Regions from separate parts of the Homo sapiens genome. Here region 1 is linked to region 2. The links are contacts of gene promoters, found by promoter capture Hi-C in blood cells and fetal thymus (Javierre and others, 2016). All regions are on one chromosome and are shown on one strand. Each heading gives the region's core, a stretch centred on a gene start or on the middle of the fragment in contact. The rest is flanking DNA. Distances are from core to core; before and after follow the strand shown. Region 1 overlaps GSG1L (GSG1 like). Region 2 holds the start of GSG1L (GSG1 like).

Evidence for each region. Contacts are between HindIII fragments. The CHiCAGO score rates a contact against its expected background, and 5 or more counts as called.
Region 1: a fragment that was not itself captured here is called in contact with the fragment with the promoter of GSG1L in region 2 in 2 of 17 cell types (M2 macrophages and megakaryocytes); the score reaches 6.0 in M2 macrophages.

Annotation. Positions count from the first base shown.
Region 1 is chr16:27,915,634-27,920,025 of GRCh38, reverse strand. The region is part of intron 2 of GSG1L (GSG1 like); the gene reads left to right. Among named protein-coding and RNA genes, the nearest start is that of GSG1L, 150 kb to the left of the region's middle. The HindIII fragment of the contact is 2,001 bases long and covers 974-2,974 here.
Region 2 is chr16:28,061,071-28,065,032 of GRCh38, reverse strand. It overlaps GSG1L (GSG1 like), which reads left to right and starts at 1,319. Exons shown (of 7, transcript NM_001109763.2): 1 at 1,319-1,957. The coding sequence starts at 1,609. The HindIII fragment of the contact is 8,058 bases long and covers 1-3,962 here.

The DNA.
Region 1 (4,392 bases), core at 725-3,224, 150 kb after region 2:
TTCCCCCGAGTCAAGATTCCATAATCTTTTTTCAATTCAGCCCCCTTCGGAACATGCCATTTGGCATGGGATGGGATAGATCCTCATCAAGAGGGATGGGATAAATCACTTACTGCTGCACTTTTGGCCCTTACTCCCAGGATGATAAATAAGCATTGAAAGATATGGGTTTTTCTAAATACTCTGTCTCTTATTTTCCTCCTTTCAGGTGAAAATCCAATGATATGGACTCCATATTATCAACTAGGGTGTAATGTTGAGCCGACTCCCCCTCCTGTAATGTAATTTCTCCATTGGGCACCCATGTCTCCATCACTCTCAGCCTGTGTGGTCAGGGTGAGGCTGGCTCTATCTCCAAGGCTGGGCACACGGTCCAGGCTTGGCCAATTGGAGTTTTCCATCTTCTTGGCTGCCATGATGAGTACTGGATTCTAGGAAGCTAGATGTTCTGCTGCATTTGCTGAAAAAATGGAGCTCTCCTTCTCCTGGGTGTGGACCAAGTCAGAGGGGTGTTTGCCTGGAGCTTCTGGTGAATGTCTTTGTCATCCCCGTAGGGAGATCCTGCAAAGGCTCTGAGGTGAGACCGAGCTTGGCATGTTTTGAGGAACAGAAAGAGAGAATGGTTGGGGCATGGAAGGTAAGGGGAGAATGGTAGGAGATGGAGTCAGAGAGGAAGGTAGGGACCAGATCATGGGCAGCCATGATGGCCATGATAGGGAATTGGGAGATTTTTCTAACAGCAGTGGGAAGTCATTGCCACTTTGGGCATCCCCATGCCCTGGAACCTTCTTTGTACTGACTCCTTCCTCCTTATTGAGTCATCTTGGATACGAACAGGTTTGAATGAGAATTGAAAGACTCTGGGCATCCCTAGGCTCTGCCTTTGTGATATGCGCAAGTTGCACTCATCTCTGGGCCTGTTTCTACTGTGGCTCATGATGGAATCAGACAAGTTTAAGGAGAATGGAAAGCTTTAATCCTTCATCCCTTCTATTCTCAATTGGTAGTGCCTGCCTGGACAGCTGTGTGGAGAAGGATTGTGAGGCGTCTCCCAGGCTCCGTGGGAGAGTGCCATGATCGATTAGCAATGTCTGCCCTGGGTAAAGGAACGGGAATGATGAATCATCCATCTTAAGACTACACACTCCCAGAGGTGTCTCCCATAGAATTTCATGGTACTTTACATCAGATGTATCAGAAACTTAGAGCACCAGACCAAGGATAAAAATGTTCAGCAAGCCTTTGCAGGGCTTCCCATTTTACAAAGATTCTTCCTGCCCATTTTCTTGTTGGATCTTCGCAGCCTCCTCAAACCATCTTCTTTATTCTTTTTTTTCTTTTTCTTTCTTTTTTTTTTTCTTTTTTTTGAGATGGAGTCTTGCTCTGTCGCCCAGGCTGGAGTGCAATGGCATGATCTTGGCTCACTGTGACCTCCGCCTCCCAGGTTCAAGTGATTCTCCTGCCTTGGCCTCCTGAGTAGTTGGGACCACAGGCGCCCGCCACCATGCCTGACTAATTTTTTGTATTTTTAGTATAGACAGGGTTTTGCCACGTTGGCCAGGCTAGTCTTGAGCTCCTGACCTCAAATGATCCACCTGCCTCGGCATCCTAAAGTGCTGGGATTATAAGCATGAGCCACCACGCCAGGCCCTCAAACCATCTTAATAGGAAAACAATCTGTTGTGTTTGCCCCATAGCCAGCATCCCTTTTTCTGGTAACCATACTCTGGTTGTTGTTTTTTTCTGCTGGGTGTCAAGCTCTTTCTATGCTCAGGCCATGTAGTTTGTGACTGAGGTTGAAGCAGGAGACCCAGGCCTACGGCAGTCAAAGCATCACATTCCCCTGTGGATGGGTTGATGGATTCATGACCAAATCAGAGGTTATGCAATACAATGAAATGTCTGCTGCAACCTCAGGGGAAGAGAGCTGTGCCCAGTGGATTTGAAGGTGGTTGGATGTGGGTCTAGGTGTGTTGGGGCTGTTTCCTGTGGCCCTGAAAGCTGATTTCACACATTTCTTCTCAACTTGGCATTCAAAATCTGCCACAGTAGAAGGATTTGCTAAAAATCAGGGATTTTTTTTTTGGTCCCAAGAGCTGGCTTGGCTTCCGGCCACTTTCTTACCATGGCATGGAGTCTGAGACCCAAGCCACAGCATGGAAGATGGAGCCAAAAGTTAGAAAAGGACCGAGTCCTCCGTCTAGCTGTGCCCGAAGCCAGATCTGCTTTTTAGCTGATGAATTATTCTTCTGTTTATGCCTGTCGTGGTTGTATTTCTATCCCTTGCAACTAAGAGAAGTCTGATATAAATTTTAGATTCAGCAGGCTAAAGAAAAGATGGTTTAATTCTCATCTCTTTAAAACTCTGGGAATACTTCCCCACTGCCTTGGGAGGAATGGCTGGATTCTCACCTGGCACCCTAGGTTTTCTGCCATCTGGCCCCAGTTGCTGTCTCTGGCTTCAGAGGAAGGCCTCCTATGCTCTGGGTTGATTGGGTTTCTTAACTGCCCTCAACAAAGTCTCCTCTTTTGCTTATTCTGTTCCTCTCTACCTGGAACACCCTTTCTTTCTCCACAGCTACATTCCTGTCATTGTTTAGGGTCCTGCTCATTCCCCCTACATCCTTGGAGCTATGCCAGCTTCTCCCCCCGCCCCTCTCTCTCAGCACACAGCACTTTCTTGATTGTAGAGTCCTCACGCCCAGCTCACTGCCTCTTCTACATTTGAGCACTTTAAGGTCAGGACTGCATGAGGTTCATCTTCAAATCCTCCCGAATACCTGTTACATCACCTTGCACAAAACAGGCCATCAGGAAATACTTGTGAAGCCAACAGATCCATTCTCAACCCAGCAGCTAGAGTGATCTACTGCAAACGCAAATTATATTGGGCCACCGGCTTCTTTAAAATCCTCTGACCAGAATTCCCACCTCACTGGCCTCTGGATTACAGAAAAAAAGCACGAAGCAAGCTTGCTCCCACCTCAGGCCTTTGCACTTGCTGTGTGTGGATTTATCTTCACCCAACTCTTTATTTAGCTTCCTCCTTCCTACCAGGATTTAGCTCAAATGTCACCTCCTCATAGACATCTTGCCTGGACACTCTTAACTGATATAGCCCCACTCTAGACATTTTTTTTTTTGCATTGAGTGATTTTAATTTTATTTTTTCCATTAATGATGATCAATGCTTATATAGCACTTATGATGTATCACATCGTGTCCTAAGCAAATACAGGAGTATATTAACTCTTTTAGTTTTTAACAACCCCATGAGGGAGGTGCCCCCATTTTACACACAAAGAATGAGTGTCATAAGCTGGCTTCCCTGGGAACAGAGCCTGAGATGGGAATTCTGGTGCCCATGAATTTTTGGAGAGATACTTTCAGGTAAAAGGGAGAGAGCATGGCACAGTAGTTCATGCCTGCCGTCCCAGCACTTTGGGAGGCTGAGATGGGAGGATTATTTGAGGCCAGGAGTCTGAGATCAGCCTAAGCAACAGAATGAGAACTCATCTCTACAAAAAAAAAAAAAAAAAGGATTAAAAATATTAGCTGGCATGGTGGTTTGCAACCCAACTACTTGGGAGGCTGAGGTGGGAGGATTGCTTGAGCCCAGGAGTTTGAGTCTGCACTGAGCTGTGATTGCACCACTGTACTCCAGCCTGGGCAACACAGCAAGACTCTGTCTCTAAAAAAAAAATATAAATACATAAAATTTAGAAAGAAAAACATGTTTAAGAGAGGGCAGAGGAAGATAAATTAGACACAGAGGGCAGAGTAAGGGAAATGGCATGGAAGGGGTGTGGTCTCCCCAGAGACTGACCCCCTGGGAAGCTCTGGAGTGTGAATTATACTGCAGAGTTGGTTCCACCTTCAGCCACAGGAAGCACGCCTTTTTTCCTCATTGGGTGTCTCAGGGGTTAGAGGGAATCACCATAACCTTCCAGGTGAGCTGGCTGCAATTCAACCAAGGGCATGTTTCTGCAGAAGGGGAGAGTGTGCTCCTTTAGTGGCCCGTCATGGCAGCCAGGGAGTGATGTATCACTGCAAAGGGGACCTGGGTAGGCACCAGGAATATTCACTGCAAAAAAAGTTAAATGATTTGCCCGAGGGCCCCACCCGGTAAGTGGCAGAACCAGAATTTAAACCCAGGTTGTCTGTCTGTTCCTTTAACCTCTCTGCTGTGGCTGCCGCTACCTGACATGATCCTATTGTATTTATTATTATTATTTTTTAGAGACATGGTCCCACTGTGTTGCCCAGGTTGGAGTGCAGTGGCTATTCAAAGGCATAGTCATAGCTCACTGCAGCCTCAAACTCCTGGGCTCAAGCGATCCTCCCCTCTCAGTTTCCCCAATCCTATTGACTTTTGAAAACTTGTTTATTTTC
Region 2 (3,962 bases), core at 70-2,569:
GTCGGAGCAGTTCTCAGCTTGGGCAGAATTCAAATGAGCTCTTATAATCAACATGCAATTAATTGTTGCACGCCCTGAGCATCTGGGCAGTAAGTGCTGTGCAGCGCGAAGGGAGTTCAGGGAGCGTGGTCATCTTAGAGCAGAGGTGGGGACGGGGTTGCACACAGTTTCCACGTTGCACAGGAGAGCCTGAAGAGGTTTGTCTGAGTTTGGTCAACTGATCTTGGTTCAGATGTCAGTAACAGTGAATTATTAATTGAGTCTACTGTGTGCCAAATGCTTTTTGCAGCCATGATCTCATTACAGCAGCCCACTGTGATATACCTTGAAGGGGGGGGGGTCCTCCCTTTTTTATAGTTATGGAAATTGAGGCTCAGAGAGGGTAAGTGACCTGTTCAAAGCCACACAGCTGGTCAAGCCCTAGATATGCTTGATCCCAAAGTCAGTATGTTTGGCCACCCTGCCCCCACCCGAATCTTGAAGATTCTACCCACATTCACATGGTGTGCATGTGAGCAGGGTTGGCAGCCCCTGTAGGGCACCACTGCCTGGTAGCTGCAATAACTTTGTGGCCGGCATGGGCCCTCCTAGGGTTCTGCTGTTTGGGATCTCAGGTGGGTGCAGTGGGCTGTCTGGGGTACCCTGTTGCCACTCTTCCTGCAGTTGCATGCCATGGTTGGGAGCCCAGATGACAGTTTCATCCTTGGAGGGGAGCTCTTCCCAGATGCTGGAGGTGACACCCAGGAGACAGAAAAACGTTTCAAACCCTATAACCCAATACTCCAGGAGGGGCGCCTCCTGACAGATTCTGCCACTCCAAGTCCAGCATGGGTTGTCTTATCCAGGGGGTCTTGCAGCTCCCTGGCTGTGGGAAGCCCTGCAGGCTCTGCTGTTTAGAACCTTTGGAAAAACTCCTTTCTCAGGGTCTGGTGCGGGGGTCCTTTTGGGGATCCCCTTCTGGGACAGGGTCCTGCTGGTCCGTGTCCCTCTTGGGGAGCCCCAGCAGGCTCTGCCCTTGTCTCCTGGGGCAGGGCCTCTCTGGGTCTCATGAGATGCCCGCTCCCGGCGGGTTTTGTTGCCCCACGTCCGCCGTGGGGATCTTTTCTCAGGAGCGCCTTGCCTGGGATTCTCCTTGCGTCTCAGACCCTCACCCTGGCTCGGATTTCTTTCGGGGGCGTCCCTCCACTCCCAGGCCCCCGCCCGCGCCCGGCGTGGCGGCCCCCTCTCCCCGTGCGGGCGGGCTCCGGAACAGTGTCGCCGGCCGCCTGCAGGTGTCTCCCCACGGAGGGGCGCGCGTCCCTGCGCCGTGGCCGCTGCCAGGCGCCAGCGGCTCCTAGCCGAGGTGCACTCGCGCTCCGGGCTCCGGGCGCGCCGTAGCCGCTCCTCCACCGCCGCCCGCCCCGCCAGCCCGCCCCGCACGCCCCCCGCGCCGCGCCCCCACCCCGGGGTTGGGGGGGGCATGGGCCCGCGCCGCGTCCGCCGCCGCCGATCTCAGGCACCCGAGCCCCGGGGCGCGGCGGGCAGCGGCCGCTGACGCGGGGCGCCAGCTGCCAACTTCGCGCGCGGAGCTCCCCGGCGGTGCAGTCCCGTCCCGGCGGCGCGGGCGGCATGAAGACTAGCCGCCGCGGCCGAGCGCTCCTGGCCGTGGCCCTGAACCTGCTGGCGCTGCTGTTCGCCACCACCGCTTTCCTCACCACGCACTGGTGCCAGGGCACGCAGCGGGTCCCCAAGCCGGGCTGCGGCCAGGGCGGGCGCGCCAACTGCCCCAACTCGGGCGCCAACGCCACGGCCAACGGCACCGCCGCCCCCGCCGCCGCCGCCGCCGCCGCCACCGCCTCGGGGAACGGCCCCCCTGGCGGCGCGCTCTACAGCTGGGAGACCGGCGACGACCGCTTCCTCTTCAGGAATTTCCACACCGGCATCTGGTACTCGTGCGAGGAGGAGCTCAGCGGGCTTGGTGAGTGCGCGCGGGCGGCGGCCAGCTCGGCTCCGGCTCCCCCGGGGCGGCGCGGCCATCGAGGCCCGAGCCCCGGACCCGTTCGCCCTCCTCCCGCCGCCTGGGCCCAGCTCCCAGCGCTCCGCCTGGCTAGGGGCGACGTTCCGGGGCAGGGGGCGCGCGCCGTTCCGGGGCCGGGGACCAGCATGGGGGGACGTGCGGGACGCCCCGCCGTGGAGAGGTGCAAGGCAGAGCTCCTACCCGCTGCGGACGCCCCGCGGCTTTGGGGACGCTCCCGCGCCCCGGGAAGGCGCCCACCCCCGCTGCCGGTCGGAGGGGCGCGCGCTGCTTTCCGCTCCTGAACTCATCTCCACGCTCGCCCCCTCCTCCTCTTCCTTTCGCGGGGCACTAGATGCCCCCACCCACCCCGGAACGCCCCTGGGGGTGGGGGTGATGCAGGGACTCCTGCTACCAGCCGCCCCTCCTGCCGCAGATCCACAGACCCGGGAGCCTTCCACCCCCATCGCCAACCCACGCCGAACCTCCCAGACGGGAGTGGGGAGTGGGGGAGTCCCGCGGGCTCCCGGAAAGCCGCACCCGCCCAGAGGCACCCCTATTGCCAGACGCCAGGGAGCCCTCTGTATCCTGGCCCCCTCCTGGGAGAGGCAGGCTAGGGAACTGGGGACAGCTGGGCAAACTCCGGGTCGAGGAGTCCAGGAGGGCTTAGCTTAGCACAAGGCTCCTATTAGGTTCGGTGGGGGACTGACTTTTCAGAAGGCAGATCAGACTGTCCCCTTTGCCTGGACCCCCTCCTCTACCCTCCAGAGGCAGCCTGGGCTGGAGTGCGTGTTTTGGAGGCAGACAGCCGGGCTGTGGCAGGGCCCAGGGGACAGCTGCCGGACAGCTGGTTGTGCCACACAGCAGGTAGAGCTGGCCCGAAAGACGTGGTATCTCTGAGCGGGTGTCCAGGCATGGACACCCTCCTGAGTGAATTGACCTCTTTCTCCAAGGTTAAAACTCCTCCCTGCATGCCTAGCTCCTCAGTGTGGACACCACACATATGTGTGTGCTCAAGGGTGGGTTACAGCAGACCTCCACCCTTAGTTTGCCCTAAATAAGCCAGTGGCCTAAGTGGTTTAGAGGGCAGAGGGAGGAAGCTGTGAAGCGAACCCAGTGAAAAGCTCCAGGCCTCTGCACAGGCTGCATCCTCTGTCTGGAATGCCCTTCCCCGCCCCACCTCCTTCTTCAGGGGCTCCTTTCACTGGGACTCTCCCACCTGCCTTCCATGTCAGGATACTGAGGAGGGACAACCTTGTGAGCTCCCCGTTGGAGGGAGGGTCTCCATCTTTGGATCTCACCACTGCGTTTATCTCCCTGCCACACTTGGCACTCCCTGACATTTTCTGGGGCCTGTTTTTGGTCACTAGCTTATAGTCCCCACTCCCCATAGGATGTCACTCTGTGAGGGCCAGCCCGGTTGGTCTTGTTCACTGCTGCCTCCCAGTAATGTCTAGCGCATAGTAGGTCTTCAATAAACATTTGCCGGGTGCATACTGGATGGGGTTGGGATGATGAACCGGAGGCTTCCTGCGGTGCTGCCTCCTCTGTCTCTCTTCTGGGGGTGGCTGACCAAACTTTTCTGTGACTTGAGCCAGGCTGGCCGTTTGTCAGAGATACATGGTGTTTGAATATGGACCTGCCCCTGATTGGTTTCATCCCATCAGACCCACTTCTGGTTTACACTCAACACTCAAATGTTTACTGTGGGATGCAATTAAAATTATTAACTTCAAAAGGCATCTTGGCCAAAATTCCCTGCCTTCCGCACAGCCCAACCCTAATCTCTCACACGGAGGCCTCGTAACACCTTGTTGTCAGGAACATCTTCGTCCTTGGAGGTAGACATCTTGCTACTGTACATCTTTCTCCAAGTTCAAGAAGGTGTTTCCAAGGCTCAGGAGACCCAGCCCTGGGGAGATACCACCTCTGCCTCCCTTCCTCTGTGCACACACCTGAAAATACAATG